Linked DNA regions of Homo sapiens: region 2 is linked to region 1. Evidence: promoter capture Hi-C in 16 types of primary human blood cells and fetal thymus (Javierre and others, 2016). All regions are on one chromosome and are shown on one strand. The core of a region is centred on a gene start or on the middle of the fragment in contact, and the rest is flanking DNA. Distances in the headings are between cores, read along the strand shown.

Region 1 (6,793 bases), core at 1,327-3,826:
TTAATTCAAAAGATTCCATAAAAAATGTTTGTTATAGAAAAGATAACTTTCAACAAGAGCCACTTTTTCTGACCCTGTCAACCTGTGAATCAGCTGTTCTTAGAAGCACAGTTACTTGGACACTACACTATTCCTTCAGATGATGTAATCTTAAGGAATTTAGTAATTAGGTGAATTACTAACATAAAACAGTATTTACTGACATGACTAAATTGAAAGGCCTTTCACCTATTCCTAGAGTCTTCACAGAAATCAGACACCCAGTGTAAGAAAACGGTGTTGAAAGCTCTGCTGGTCACTTCAAAGAGAACAATCACTTCAACAAATCCAGAGGATAATGTACTAGAAACTGGGGAAATCTTACAGTATGAAAGCTCAAATAAAAATACTCGTGCTAATATACAGCAACAAAAAGAACCACTGCAGAAACTGTTGTAAGACTTCATGAGAGCAAAAACAAATGAAGAGGCGAAAACACAACAACCATTAAGACAAAAAAAAAGACAAAGAAGGCATTGAGAGAAGAAGCACAAAATAAAGATTATCCCTGAAAATGTGTGGACTAAAATATTCTGTTCTAAATACTTAATTTTAAAATTTCGATTAGAACAACACACTGTCCATTTGGCAGACCTACAAAAACATTTCCTTAAAAAATTACCATTACTTCAACTATATTTTTAAAAGGCCTGTACACTTGGAAAAGACTATCATAATAATTAGAATAACTTGTCTCACTATTTACTTAGAAATGCCCCATTTAAAAGTAGGCCAACAATAGGAACTTTGCTATTGCACAACAGAGAAAGTAAATGAAATAACATCTATTAACATTCAGCGTCCATGGCATGTTTCTCCATCTCCTAGAACATACTGTGACTTACACTGTCTACTCTGAACAATTTACCACTTCTTCATCCATGCAGTAGCTCAAATAAAGACAGTTCCTGTGTTAATCCCACAGTAAGCCTCAGTAATTCTCACATCACCGTAGTTGTAAACGTTTGTTAACAGAAAAAGAATGTTTTTCCTAAAATAGCTACATAACACTAAGACTACTCAAATTCCTAAATAATCCTTTTACAACATGCCTGCCAACTTTATTTTGATACATTAAACATGTGGAGCCTATTTTAAAAGCTCTTTAACTGTGACTATCAAAACAACTTCCCAGTTATTAACGTCTCTTTTTAAAAAAGTTTTCAAGTTGTTCTTAGAAGAAATTGAATATTGATGAATTTGGGCTGCTATCAAACGCCTAAGAAGCACTTTTTTTGCCGAATAAGATGGGCAAACGTCCCAGATCTGCTAAATCTGATATGAGAGGTCATGCAAGTTTAAAAAATGAAGAAATAACTATTTCCAACACTCACTGAGTCCTTCATTTAAAAAATTATTTTCGGTGTTATTTTCACACTTTACGTTTAATAATACAATTTTTTCAAGGTTGTTAGGCTTAAACTATGAAAAACTGATTTACCACATATGGCTAGTCAGTCTATACTCTTAATGGGGCTCCGGTAGATTTGGGGTACTGACAATAAGTGGCAGTTTCAATTAAGAACTTCACTGTTAGGAATGACATCCGAAAAGGATGGTGCTAGGGAAGACAGGCAAGAGATGCCGGGGTACGAAGAAAAGAGAAACACACAATTTAAAGCCACTAAGGAGGGAAGGCGAGGGTAGAACGCATAGACAGCAGAGAAAGACGATTTAACAAGGAAGTGAAGTGGAGCGCAGAGTAGGGCAGAAGCTGATGAGGAAACGAATGGTAAAAGATAGTGTTTTCAAACAGGGCATGCACCAGGAAGAGAAGCGCCAAGGCTTGGGGTAGCCCCAGTGCTTTCGTGTGAAAGAGATGCTTGCAGACTGAAGCGGAGGGAAGAGAGAATCAGTCAGCTTCCAGGCGTTCCAGCAAACTCCCATTCTCTCCCTGCGCCTCTCCCAGACCTCAGCCCAGCGGAGGCGGCGGCCGGGGAAGGGGCCTATACCCGAGAGCCAGGCCCGGCGTTCCCCTGCCTAGGCTCCGCGGCAGCAGGGAAAGCAGCGAGGATTCGGAAGGACAGAGGCCCCGGCCGCGGCTCGGCAGCACCGCGAAAACCTGCCCAGGGCCCGGGGCCTCGGCGGCGCGGCCGGTCAGCCGCTTCCCCTCCGGCGGGGTGCCGGGCGGCCTTACCTGAGGCAAGGGAGGGAGAAGATGTCTAGGGCGCCTCGCTCGCGCCCGCCGCGGTACTCAGCCCAAGTTTCCAACGGAGGCGCGACCCTGACTCAGCCGCCGCTTCCCCCTCGGGGTCTCGACCGCCGCCTCCGGGGCTGTTTACACCGCCCGGCCCCTCACGCCGCCGCCGCCGCCGATGCCGCCTTCTCTCCACCCTAGCGCCGTTGCCGATTCGGCCGCCGCCACCTCCTCCGCCGCAGCCTCGTCTCTCTGGAGCATCTTCCAACCACCGAACCCTGAGAATCAGAGACTCCAGCCGCGCCGGCAGGAAACTCCCCCGCAACTGCTAGGGGAACGAGGCCGTCAGAGCACCGGCGGCTTTTCCGCCATTGAGCAGAAGCCGCTCGGCTCCTTTTGCAACCCCCTCCCCGCACCCTAGTCCTTCCCCGCCCCTCAGGGTGCCCCGCCTCCAGCTGCCACCCACTGGGATGCCGCGCGCCCTCTCACGGCCCCCGGTTTGCTGGGAGTCTTGTCAATCACCGCTCCCCCTCCCCGTGCTGCTCCCTCGGCACCTCCGTACTTCGTTTACCCCGCCCACCCGGCCCCGCCTCTGGGTTTCTAATTTCCCATTGGGCATCAGTGGCTACTTTCAATAGGCAAGGTCAGCTGTCCATCAAACACCGCCCACTAAGTGAGACCCAACCCTTTATTACCATTTACTTTATTCGGCCCCGCCTCCGCTAGGTCCTACCTCCCGAACGTCAGGGACCAGCCCCCGCTACCAGCCATAAGTAGAGCCCTCCGTCAATCAAATAACGCCCACCTGCGCTCCTCCTAGCAAAGCCCCGGCCCCAGCGATTGTCTTTTCTTATTGGTCCAACTCGTGATCCGAACCCCCAGTCACTGGCTTTCTTGCGGGTCAGTCACTGAGCCAATTTCCAAGTCCGTCACACCGGCTTTTTTCAAATGAACGCGCAAAAGGCGGGGAAGTATCTGGAAAGCGATTGGTTCGTCCTAGAAAACGGTCAAACCCGGAGAGTCTGTACGGATCCTTTCCGTTCTGTGAGGACCGTGCCCCCTTGTATTTGACCTCTAAGCCTCGCGTAAAAGAAGCGCCATAAGGGACCAACGAGCAGTCCAGCTATAGGTGTGGACGCCTGGTCCCACCCGGAATTGCAGGGGCTTGGCTACTGATTGGCTAAGAAAGTCCTCCTAGGCCCTCATTGGAGGATCTAAACGCCTCTCTTCGGCGTGGAGACGGGAAGGGACGACTCAGACGAGGACAAGAAGTGGGCAGGGGAGAGGCGGTTGTTTTGCTTCAGCCGCGGGTGGGGCGCAGGCGAGAGTGGGAAACTGGGAAGGCCGGGCTCTGGGGAGGTGTTGCGGGGAGGGGAAAGGCCCGGATGTTCCCTAACAATGAAATCATCGCCGACCTATCAGAGCCGCCGAGCTGGGATACCTGCCTGACCTGTACCCCGGAGGGAGAAGAGTGGGCGGGAAATTGGGGTGTCGGAAGAACCTGGAAAGCAACGTGAGAAAGTGGGACAGGTGTTCCCTTCAGGAGGATTTTGTGCTATTAGAGATTATTTTTATACCAGCCCTTGACATTTCCGTATTTTGTTTCTCAGTCGGCATTGATATTAAAACTCCCAGCCTAGTCTCTTGACATGGACTTGTTCATTTCGCAGTTATTGAGCGCCTACTGTTTGCCAGGTACTGTATGTAGAACTGGAGATACAAAAATAAATTAGGCAATCGCAGTACAAGATGATAGGTACTACAATTGAAACATGCACAAGGGCTGGTGACGACATAAAGGGTCTTCCTTGTGCATAGGTTTACCAAGAAAGGCTTCACAAAGACACAGGATGAGTCAAGAATGAATGATAGGGGTTTAACAGGCCGATGGGGAAAGTGGACATGACTCCTCCAGCTATCAAATTAGACGATGCTGCCATGTTAATTCTCCAAACGAGAAACAAAAGTGTAATAGAGGTATTCTAATACTTACCTTAGGATATATATATATATATATATTTTTTTTTTAATCCGAATGTCCTAAAAGAACTTAAACCTATTTCCTACTTTGGTGTAAAATGGTTTGGGCAGACAATTTAAGCTTAGACCCAACAGAGTGCTATTCAGGTTAGGGGCTGTCAATGTTTTATAGAAAAGGGCAAATTTAGTAATAGGACAATTGTCCAGGCCGTCATAAGGACGGCAGAAACAAAGACTTAATTGCAATTCGGGTTTTTTTGTTTTTTGAGCAAGCATATTTTACTTTTTAATAAGACAAATCTGAAAAAGCAAACGCGGTCCAAAAAGCATGTGATTCGGTAAGAGAGATTTTAAAAAACCAAAAAACCGTATCTTCTTTTCACCCCAGATCTTATTAACTGTGTGTTTTCCTCTTCGAGAACTTGTATCGTCAATAACGTCATCGTGAACCAGACTAGCAGTGTGGATCATTTCTGCAATTAAGGCTATGGCGCGGTGGCTGGCTTGCACATGTCAAATTAACAGACAGCAATGCTTTTTAACAGACGCCGCCTAGAACCTTCTCAGCAATCAGCTTGTGAAAATTGGACATCGGATCGGGAGTTGTTATGATGGATATTACATGCTCGGGCCATTAGCACCCCAATAATTGGTCGAAAGGCTTTTCCTTTTCCATCAAAGTAGTACTCAGACATTTCCTGAAGTTCTGTTGTTGATATGAGCAGTTCCTTTCTAATGTCCTCATACAGACCTTTCAAGTCTCTGCAACCGAATTTGAAAGGATCGGTGATCTGTATATTTCTCACCACTGTGTGTTTTACTGTCCGGGGTTGTGTGATAAAACCGTGATATACTGTATACATTTGGACAGGCAGATGTTAAGCGCTTCACAAGACTAAAATAGGGTATCTGAGACAAGCCGAATCCCTTCCGCCTATGAGCCTGAGCGCGGGCGCCGGCAGCGGCGCGCGGCCCTGGAGGCCCTGCAAGGCCGGGGGAGCCGGGCACACCGCCACCAGCGTGAGGCCATGGTCGGAGACTGAAAGTCGCGGCAGGGTGGCGGCTCCGCCTCTGCAATTCAGATTTTTAAAACCTACTCATCAAGTTTGTGTGAGAATGGTGTTTCTTACAGCATGGTGAATAGACCACCAGCATCCGAATCATCTGGGATTCTGGGATAGAGATTCCCAGGTCCACTCATGCCTACAAATCAGGGACTCTGGGGACAAGGCTCAGAAAGGTGAATTTTAAAATAGCTCCCCAGATGATTTTTTTTTTTTTTTTTTTGAGACGGAGTCTCACTCTGACGCCCAGGCTGGAGTGCAGTAGTGCAATCTCGGTTCAGTGCAACCTCCGCCTCCCAGGTTCAAGTGATTCTCCTGCCTCAGCCTCCCGAGTAGCTGGGATTGCAGGCACCCACCACCACGCCTGGCTAATTTTTGTATTTTTAGTAGAGACGGGGTTTCACCATGTTGGTCAGGCTGGTCACAAACTCCTGACCTCAAGTGATCCTCCCGCCTCAGCCTCCCAAAGTGCTGGGATTACAGGCGTGAGCCACCGCACCTGACCTGCAGATGATTTTTATGCGCATCAATGTTTGAGACCCTCTGGCACAGGATAATGGAGGCAGATGTAAAGTAAATTAATTTCCTCACTTTTGCATGTTGGGAGAACATATGTATATCTCACATTTCCACTGTCCCCTTTATTATCAGCGTGAGATCATACAGTCCGCAGGAAGTATTATTGAAGTGACTTATAAAAAAATTAAATTTTCTTTAATCACACTCCATTGCCTGACACCCCTTATGTAAGCAGAAGGGAGTCTGAGACCTCAGCTTCTAAAATGGGAACCATGCTAAGGATAAAAAACTGAAGACATTTAGGGACCCTTGTCCTGTGAATACAAGCAACTACAGAAAGGCATGAGAACAGTTTCTTGGCTTGCTTGACTTCCTTCTCACCTTCCCTTGGTTGACCCAAAAACAAATACAAAGCTCAGTCATTTAGGTGGGCTGATAATTCCATATCATTCATACTTTCAATCACCAAGAGCAAAAAAAAAAAAAGTATGGAGACACCCCAGAACAGATTTGAAGGTTAACTTTGTTGTATGCTTTATTTGCTTAAAATACTAAACCATTAAAGAAAGCCCAACAAGAGTCACAACTTTGAAAACTGCTGTTTACCATCATAAACATAATGTGTCATAAACCCTGAGTACCATCATAATGTGCTCTGCTACGAACTAGCTGTGTGACTTGAGCTAGTAACTAAGCTATCTGAGCCTTGGTTTGTTCTGCAAAATGGGAATCGTAACATCTTTCTCCAGAGCCACATGAAGAGTTTTAGAGTCTCTTAGTAATGCAAATCATTCCCCAATATATAGTTTTAAATAAAAACAATATTAAATGTAATGTAGAAAAAGTTGGGTGAGGAAATCACATGATCACCCCTAGCTGCAAGGGAGCCCAAACAATCAGGGAACTGCGAGGTCACAAGTTGCTTAGAGCAGAGATTCCCAGTCTTTACCAAGCATCACAATCTCTTTAGATGTCATTTATACTCACCACTCTTTTGAAATTATTATAATTATTATACTCATCACTAGATCTTGTTATTTCATGCATTAATAAA
Region 2 (7,302 bases), core at 2,398-4,897, 2.1 Mb before region 1:
TCAATTCTGTATCATCCTGCGCTGCTGGTAATACAATGGAAACATATCAAGTGTGGAGGGAATATTTATTTAAAATATATGTTTAAATTGAGAGAAACTGTCCAGCAATATTTTTTCCCTTCAGAGTTGGAATAATGATGGAGTTTGATTTGATTTTAGAAGAGGAACAACTAAGTCCAGCTGTCAGAAGGAGGGGGAGATTGGAGATCCAGGTGTCTCCAATTCCCCTTCCACGCTAGCCCTGTACTGAGCACTACTGTATAAGCACTCTGGGAAGGTGTCTGGACCTAGGTCTGGCTTTGGGACTGGACTTTGATCCCTGATTATCCAAGGATCTCATTTACATTTGCCTGAACCACTCCTCAAACCCCGTGAATCCCAGAATTTCCACATTTTTTTCCCAGTGAAAGGACTCAGGCATTCCTGATAGATGCGTGCACAAAAAGGTGAGTGAAAGTGCAGTACCCCCACCCACCAGGCTTCAGTTTCTGACATCTGTGATGTCACCGCAAATGCCCACTACCACCAAAACTGGTACTATCAAGGACACCCAGCCAACTAACATTTAGAAAGCAAACTCTTTATTATTAAACATTAACATATTTATCGACGTGTGAACATTCTGGGACAAAATCATCTGCCCACTTCTTGACGGGCCATTGTTAGAACGAATATTCCAAATGTTCTGCCCATATTGCATTTGGGGGAAGAAACTGCTCTGCTAAACCAAAGAAACACAAAATGTAAGAACTAGTGGGCAGAATCATCAGCAGAGAGCCCCCTCACTGTCACATCGCCCTTGTGAGGCACTCAGAAAAGCTACAGCAGTCACTTACATGACAACACCAACTTTCAATGTATTGGTTCACATATTTTAATTACATCTTGGTCCCTAAAGAAGCCTGCAGCCAGCAAACAGACCCAGGCACGAAAAGTAAATGAGTCTCAAACTGATTAGCCCAATAGGAATTGGACAACCCCTTAAGGGGCTCTAGATGGTGAAGGACACGCTGTTTGCCCTGCCATTCTGCAGCACAAAAATCCAGGCAGGTCGAAGAGGGCGGACACCCTCGCGTGGCCACCAGCCCGGAGCCGCAGCTCACACAGCGGCCTCCAAGGCGTTTCGCAGGCAGTCCCCACAGTGGTTCTTAAAGCGGCCGCTCTCGCCAATAATTGGGAGTCTAATTACGCAACGTTCTTCCCGCTCCCATTCCCGCTTCTTCTCTCTTTCCAACAGTCCGCTAACGAACCAGGTACTGTAGCTGGGTGTGTCGAAATCATTTTTCCCCTGCTCCCAAGTTTCTCGGTATATACGGTACAAAACTGCACAAAACCCGGCGCTAAGGAGCGCAGGAGGAGCTGACACTTCACACATTTGTCAAGATTACTGTCAGGCCCCACCTCGGCGATTGCCACATTCCCGATAGGCATCGCAGTTGTAAAATACACAAGTTCCCTCCCCGGCTCCGGACCCGAAAGCGTCTGCAGGCGCTGTCTATAACTTTGCTTTTCGATGGTTCAGTCATTATTAGCATTATGATTGGTTTTTACAAAACGCACTGGAATCTTAAGAGTCTTTTCCTTGCTCTGCTGCCTTCAAAAGACATGGAACCCCAGGACTGCTCCGAGGGCCCTGGGAATGTGCCGGCTGCAGTCTCAGGGCTCCCTCACTTGTCTTGGGTCTGAGGGCGCGACGGTGACGAGAAAGGGGGGACTACGGCCAGGAAAGGGGAGCAGGGCCCAATCCCCTCCCCTAGCGATCCCGCAGTGAAGGGCCCGGGCGCCGAGCCAGGACAGGCGCGATTCGCTCCCGTTTATCAAATCCTTATCGGTGCCCCGAGGTGGGAACCGCTGCTTTCGACCGGAGGATACACGGTTTCTGGCTCCAGTCCCGTAGTGGAAGTTGGAACAAGAGCAAATCAACCTCGGCAGTGAGCCCTCCCGGCCAGTCACCTCCCTCCCTTAGCGAGTCGGTCCTCCTCATCCTCGCACCTCTATACCGCCGCTCCGCCGCTGGTTTCCCGCGGCTCAGGCGGTTCAGCCGGCCGCGCGTTGGATTCCAGCTTCCCGCAGCATAGCCTCGCCAAGCCGCGGCCAAGCGCGGGGCTGGAAGCTCCAGGCCACTGGGGCCGCACGGGTGGAGACAGGAGGAGAAAGGGGACAGGCGGCGAGCCGCACACATTTGCAGAAGTTGAGGCCCTGCCTGCTTCTGCGCGGCCGCGCAGAGGGCTCGAACCCTCGCTCGGGTAGCGCCGGGCCCGGCTGGACTGGGAGCGGCCGGGAGAGGGCGAGAGGGCAGCAAGAAATGGCCAGAGTTGCCTCTCACCCAGTGCCGAGAGGCTCGCGAGGGCAGGCGGGCAGATCGTGGCTGCCCTTCTCTGTCCTCTTCGGAGACAGACACCCGGACCTGCCAGGGACATCCAGTGTTGCCGTCCGCTTCCTACACACCGAACCATCTGCCCCCGCAGGGCAATCCAGGTCACTCACTACCTACTCTCCCCAGAGTCAAGGTGCGGCACGAGGAAGTGGGTTCTCCAACCTTCGGTGGGGTCTGGAGCCCGGCAGCGGGGCGCTCTGAAGGGTCCTGGCTCCTCGGTAGGATCGTGTCCCTGAGCCGCTCTCCGCCTCCCGCCCCCCTTTGCCCACTTGGGCCGCGGCGCGGGCACAGGAGCGCATTTGGAAGGACTCCGCGAATCCAGAGAAAAATAGAGACGTGGATGCTGCCCCAAAATGAGAGACCAGAGAAAGTCGAGGACATGCACCCACAAACATTTCCAAGCGCCGGTGGCCACGGTAATCTGCTGCGGGGCGGCTGGGAGATTTTCAAAGGCACCGCGGAAGCACCTCCGACCTCCAGGCCATCTCCCTCGGCCTCCTGGCCTCGCCGTGCGCGCAAATCCCCGACTCCTCCGAGCCGCAGAAGTCTCCACTGCAAAGCTGCTGATCCGCGCCCCCAAACCGGGCACATGCTCTCCCCCTCACAGCCCTCCAAACCGAGCCTCGAGCTCCGAAGACCTCTCAGCACTCTTCTCCCAACCACTCTCGGTCGCGCCTGCCCCGCGCAGCCCGGCCCTGGCCTCGGACCGGCCCCCTGATCGGCCCGGACGCCCGCTTACCTTTTCTTCTCCTTGTCAGCTGTCATTGTCGCTGTGGCCCTTTGAGACGTTCAGACGCCGAGCACCTGGGCTCCCTGGCGGGTGGGGGGCTGTGGCCCTCGTCCGCTCCCCGCGGCCCGGGCGGGTGGTGAAGGTCCGAGGTGCGCGCAGGTCCCGAGCGCCCCGCGCAGTCAGGTGGAAGGTGGCGCGCGGCGGGCTAGGTGCGGGGGCGGGGGTGGAGAAAGGTGACTGGGAGGAACCTGCGCGCGGAGGCGGGGTCCGGGGAAGGAGTGGGTGGAGGCTGTCAGACCCGAAAAGAGGACGGAGAGAAGGGAACCCAAGTTCCTTTTTCCCTGGAAAAGGAGTCACTTTTCTGAGTTTTCAAAGAAAAAAAAAAGTGGCTCGAATGCTGGGAGTCGGAAGGAGTCGGAGGCCGGGCTGAGCTGACCATACAGTCTCAGGACACTGCCGAGGATTGTACGGCCGCCTCAGGAGCGCTGGGGCGGAAGCGCAGCGGGCACCGGACCCGTGTGGCGGTCCGCTCGCGAGTGTAAAGCTCCCGCGGCCGGCAGCCCACTTTAAAAACTCCGTCGGCCGGCTTGGGGCGGGCACGGGGCGGGCGCGGAGGGCGGGGGGCGGGCACCGGCGCGGGTGTGTGGGCGGGCACGCGCCGGCAGGCCCCGCCCGCGCCGAGCTCCGGGCGGCTCACTGCGTCCCGGCCAATGGGGACGCGCGGCCGCAGCCTCTGCCCTGACCCTGGCCCGCCTCCTGCCCCCGCGCTGCGCCCCGCCTCCTGCCTCCGCACTTCGAGGACTTGTTTATGAGGTCGTCTGGGCGGCGGGTAGCGGGGTGGGACTCCGCGTCGGGGAGAGGCAGCCTGCGCAGGGCCGAGGGGCGGCCGGGAGCCGGGCTCCGGGATTGCTGCGGGGGACGGCAGTTGCGCCACAGCGTCGGTGTCCTCGTACCGGCGCCGTGCCCTTGGAACGAGGGCAGGACCGCGGGCAGCGCCGGGCCAGCGCGGAGCCCCTCCACGCTGCTGCGCTCCTGCGTCCCTGGCCCTCGGGCCAGGTGGGGATAATTTCTCGGCCCCCAGCGGCTGCGTTTCGGGCGTGGGCGATGCGCCCTTTTCGGTGGGACGCAGCTGACTTGACCGTCTGGGAGAAGCAGTGCAAGGAAATTGATCTAGGGCTGCGCCTACTCTTCCTTCCCTCTCCCAGCAGGGTGGTTGCTTACCGGCTTGTGCCAGGCGGTTTGGTTTTGGCGGGGATGCGGCAGAGGAGGCCCTTTGAGCCGCCCGAGGCCGGGGCGAGTTCAGAATTGGAGAAGTCAGTCTGGTTCCCCAGTGTGATCTTGGAGTGACAAGAGTTGGCCATGTGCCCTCAAGTCACTGCATCTCAGGCCTGCCCTCTCTGCCGCCAGGGTCGATGGAAGTCCTGGGAAACCCAAAGGCTACAGGTGTTGGAAATTTGTAGATTTAAGGGCTCACACAGGCAACGGTTAGCGCTCAGGGATTTTCCAGCGGCGCTTTTGACGCTGCCTTCCATCTCCGGGCCCAGTGCTCCCCTGCCCCGCGCTGAGCTGTCTCCCACTCGCTACCGGCGATGGGGAAGGGACATCTGGGGAGAGGACAGGGGACGCCCTTAGTTTTTGAAGGCTGTGGAAGGACCCATGAGTTTCACAGGTGTAACTTGAAGTTGGAAAGCGAGGGCCAAAGAACTGGTCTATATCTCTCCCTTTAGCCTCTTGCCACATTTTATACTAGAACGATCTACAGAAGCGATTTGAAGAGAAGGGTAGGTTTCAGCGCCATAATAAAAATGAACACGTGTTTTCCCCGTGTACACAGAAAGGGTTGGGGGAGATACTTTTCAGGAGCCTGGAGAAGGCGAAGTGGGGAGAGGGCAAAAACTGACGAAGAATTGGGAAATACTTTTTTTTTTTTTTTGAGACTGAGTCCCACTCTGTCGCCCAGGCTGGAGTGCTGTGGCCCCATCTCGACTCACTGCAACCTCCGCTTCCCGCGATTCTTGTGGCTCAGCCTCCGGAGTAACTGGAATTAAAGGCGCCCACCACCACCCTCAGCTAATTTTTGTATTTTTAGTAGAGACGGGAGTTTTACCATGTTGGCCAGGCTGGTCTCAAACTCCTGACCTCAAGTGATCTGCCCAACTTGGCCTCTCAAAGTATTGGGATTACAGGCGTGAGTCACTGTGCCCGGCCGGGAAGTAGACGTATTTTGTCATTTTCTCAGATCTCGGGGCACGGAGCACCTATACAGGTTGATAGTCAACGAATTCAAAGATTGCAAATCTCTCTCTAGCGAACTATTTCATGGGGCTGGTGGGTTTCAGGAACGGGGTGATTTGGTACTGGGCTTCTCCAGCCAGCCATTTCTAGTGGACACATTTATGTATTTTAATGAGTTCAAATTGGTAGATAGTTCTCCCTTAACCATAGGCTTATTTCCCTCACTTGGGACTAGAGTGCGGGAAAAGGGCACCTTGGTGGCTTCCAGGTGCCTACAGTAGTTCACCACAACAGCCTCTGAGTCCTGGACTGTGCTTGACAGATCGAGGCAACACCTCCAACCCATAGAGAACATAGCCTTTTAGATCTTGTTTTTAAAGAGGAAAGGCAAGGAGGGGTCACTCAAGACCACATCAACCTAAGAAGACATGGACACATGGGAGGAACAGCACAGACTGGGGCGTGTCAGAGGGTGAGGGGTGGGAGGAGGGAGAGCATCAGGAACAATAGCTAACGGATGCTGGGCTTAATACCTAGGTGATGGGATGATCTGTGCAGTGGACCACCATGGTACACATTTACCTATGTAACAAACCTGCACATCCTGCACATGTACCCCTGAGCTTAAATGTTAGAAATTCCATCAACCATGTTATATAGCTCCTTCCTCTTGGCCAGACTGCACCCTATAAGTGAAGGATCCCCAGGCTAACACAAACAGCTGGCATTGAGTCTGGGATTTTTTTTTTTTCTTTAGACAATCTCACTCTGTTGCGCAGGTTGGAGCGGAGTGGCACGATCTTGGCGCACTGCAACCTCCACGTCCCGGGTTCAAGCTATTCCCCTGCCTCAGCCTCCCAAGTAGCTAGGACTACAGATGTGCACCACCATGCCCGGCTAATTTTTGTATTTTTAGTAGAGATGGAGTTTTGCCATGTTGGCCAGGCTGGTCTGGAACTCCTGGCCTCATGTGATCCACCCACCTGGGCTTCCCAGAGTGCTGGGATTATACGCATAAGCCACCGCACCTTGCCAAGTCCGGGATTTTGGCAGTGTCTGAGATACACCAAAAACTCATTATAATAACTCTCAAAAGGGTTGCACCCAGCCTTGCTTAGAGCAGAGCCGGGTGGCCTGAGATTTCTTCCAGGACTCAGCTCAATAACCTTTGCAGGAAGGAGCTGAGAGTGTAAACCAGATGCAGGCTGTGGCTAGGGTGCATCCAATTTTACTTTTTAGAGCCTGTGGAGAACTAGAGGAGAAAAACTTTGAAAGGTGATGCTGGGGCAGTGAGTGGGGGATGGGGAGCTGGGTCCCCGGATTCAGAGGGGTGTCTTTAGAGACACTGATGTTGTGGCCACAGAGGGCAGCAGAGGACACCGGTAGGCAAAGCTCCCAAGCTGCTTAAAATAGGAGCAAACTGCCCACCTCCCAGCAAATCTCCCTACCTGCCCCCCAACCCTGTATTGGATGGTTTGGGAACAAAAGCTGTGGCACCAGTGAAACACCTATTTGTTTTGACAAGGGACAAATCTGATTCTCTTGCTTCCTCTTTTCTTTGTAGGGTGTGCCCTCAGGAGGATGGGATAGAGATAAAGTGTGAACTTACAAACCTGGCAGAGAGCAGGCACCTGGGATGCAGTGGGCTGGTGGAAGAAAGATGGCCTCAGTACTCCCATCGAAGTAACAGTATGTTCCAGGATGCAGTTGGAAATTAGGTTGGAATGGATGGGATCTAACAGGAACAGCTCTTGGAAGGATGGGCTATCTCATTAGTACCTTACAACTTCCAATGCATTGTCACATATTGGAGTTGGGACCAGGGTGAGGCAAAAGAGGCCTTTAAGAGTCATGCAAGTACACTGGCCTCTGTCCTGCCACATGCCTTATCTCACGTAATACCCATCTGACCCTTGTCTGGCTATTTAGTTGGTTTCGGGGTGGAGAGAGCAGGGGAGGT

The links. Contacts are between HindIII fragments. The CHiCAGO score rates a contact against its expected background, and 5 or more counts as called.
Region 2: the fragment with the promoter of EPAS1 here is called in contact with the fragment with the promoter of PPM1B in region 1 in 1 of 17 cell types (neutrophils); the score reaches 7.7 in neutrophils.

The regions. Positions count from the first base shown.
Region 1 is chr2:44,164,658-44,171,450 of GRCh38, reverse strand. PPM1B (protein phosphatase, Mg2+/Mn2+ dependent 1B) reads right to left here and starts at 2,576. Exons shown (of 6, transcript NM_002706.6): 1 at 2,177-2,576. It overlaps PPM1B-DT (PPM1B divergent transcript), which reads left to right and starts at 2,659. Exons shown (of 2, transcript XR_940034.3): 1 at 2,659-4,153. It also overlaps the pseudogene PDSS1P2. RefSeq lists silencers at 2,016-2,225, 2,546-2,875. The HindIII fragment of the contact is 4,313 bases long and covers 1-4,279 here.
Region 2 is chr2:46,293,752-46,301,053 of GRCh38, reverse strand. It overlaps EPAS1 (endothelial PAS domain protein 1), which reads right to left and starts at 3,647. Exons shown (of 16, transcript NM_001430.5): 1 at 3,117-3,647. The coding sequence starts at 3,142. RefSeq lists silencers at 3,054-3,383, 3,614-4,193. The HindIII fragment of the contact is 15,577 bases long and covers 1-7,302 here.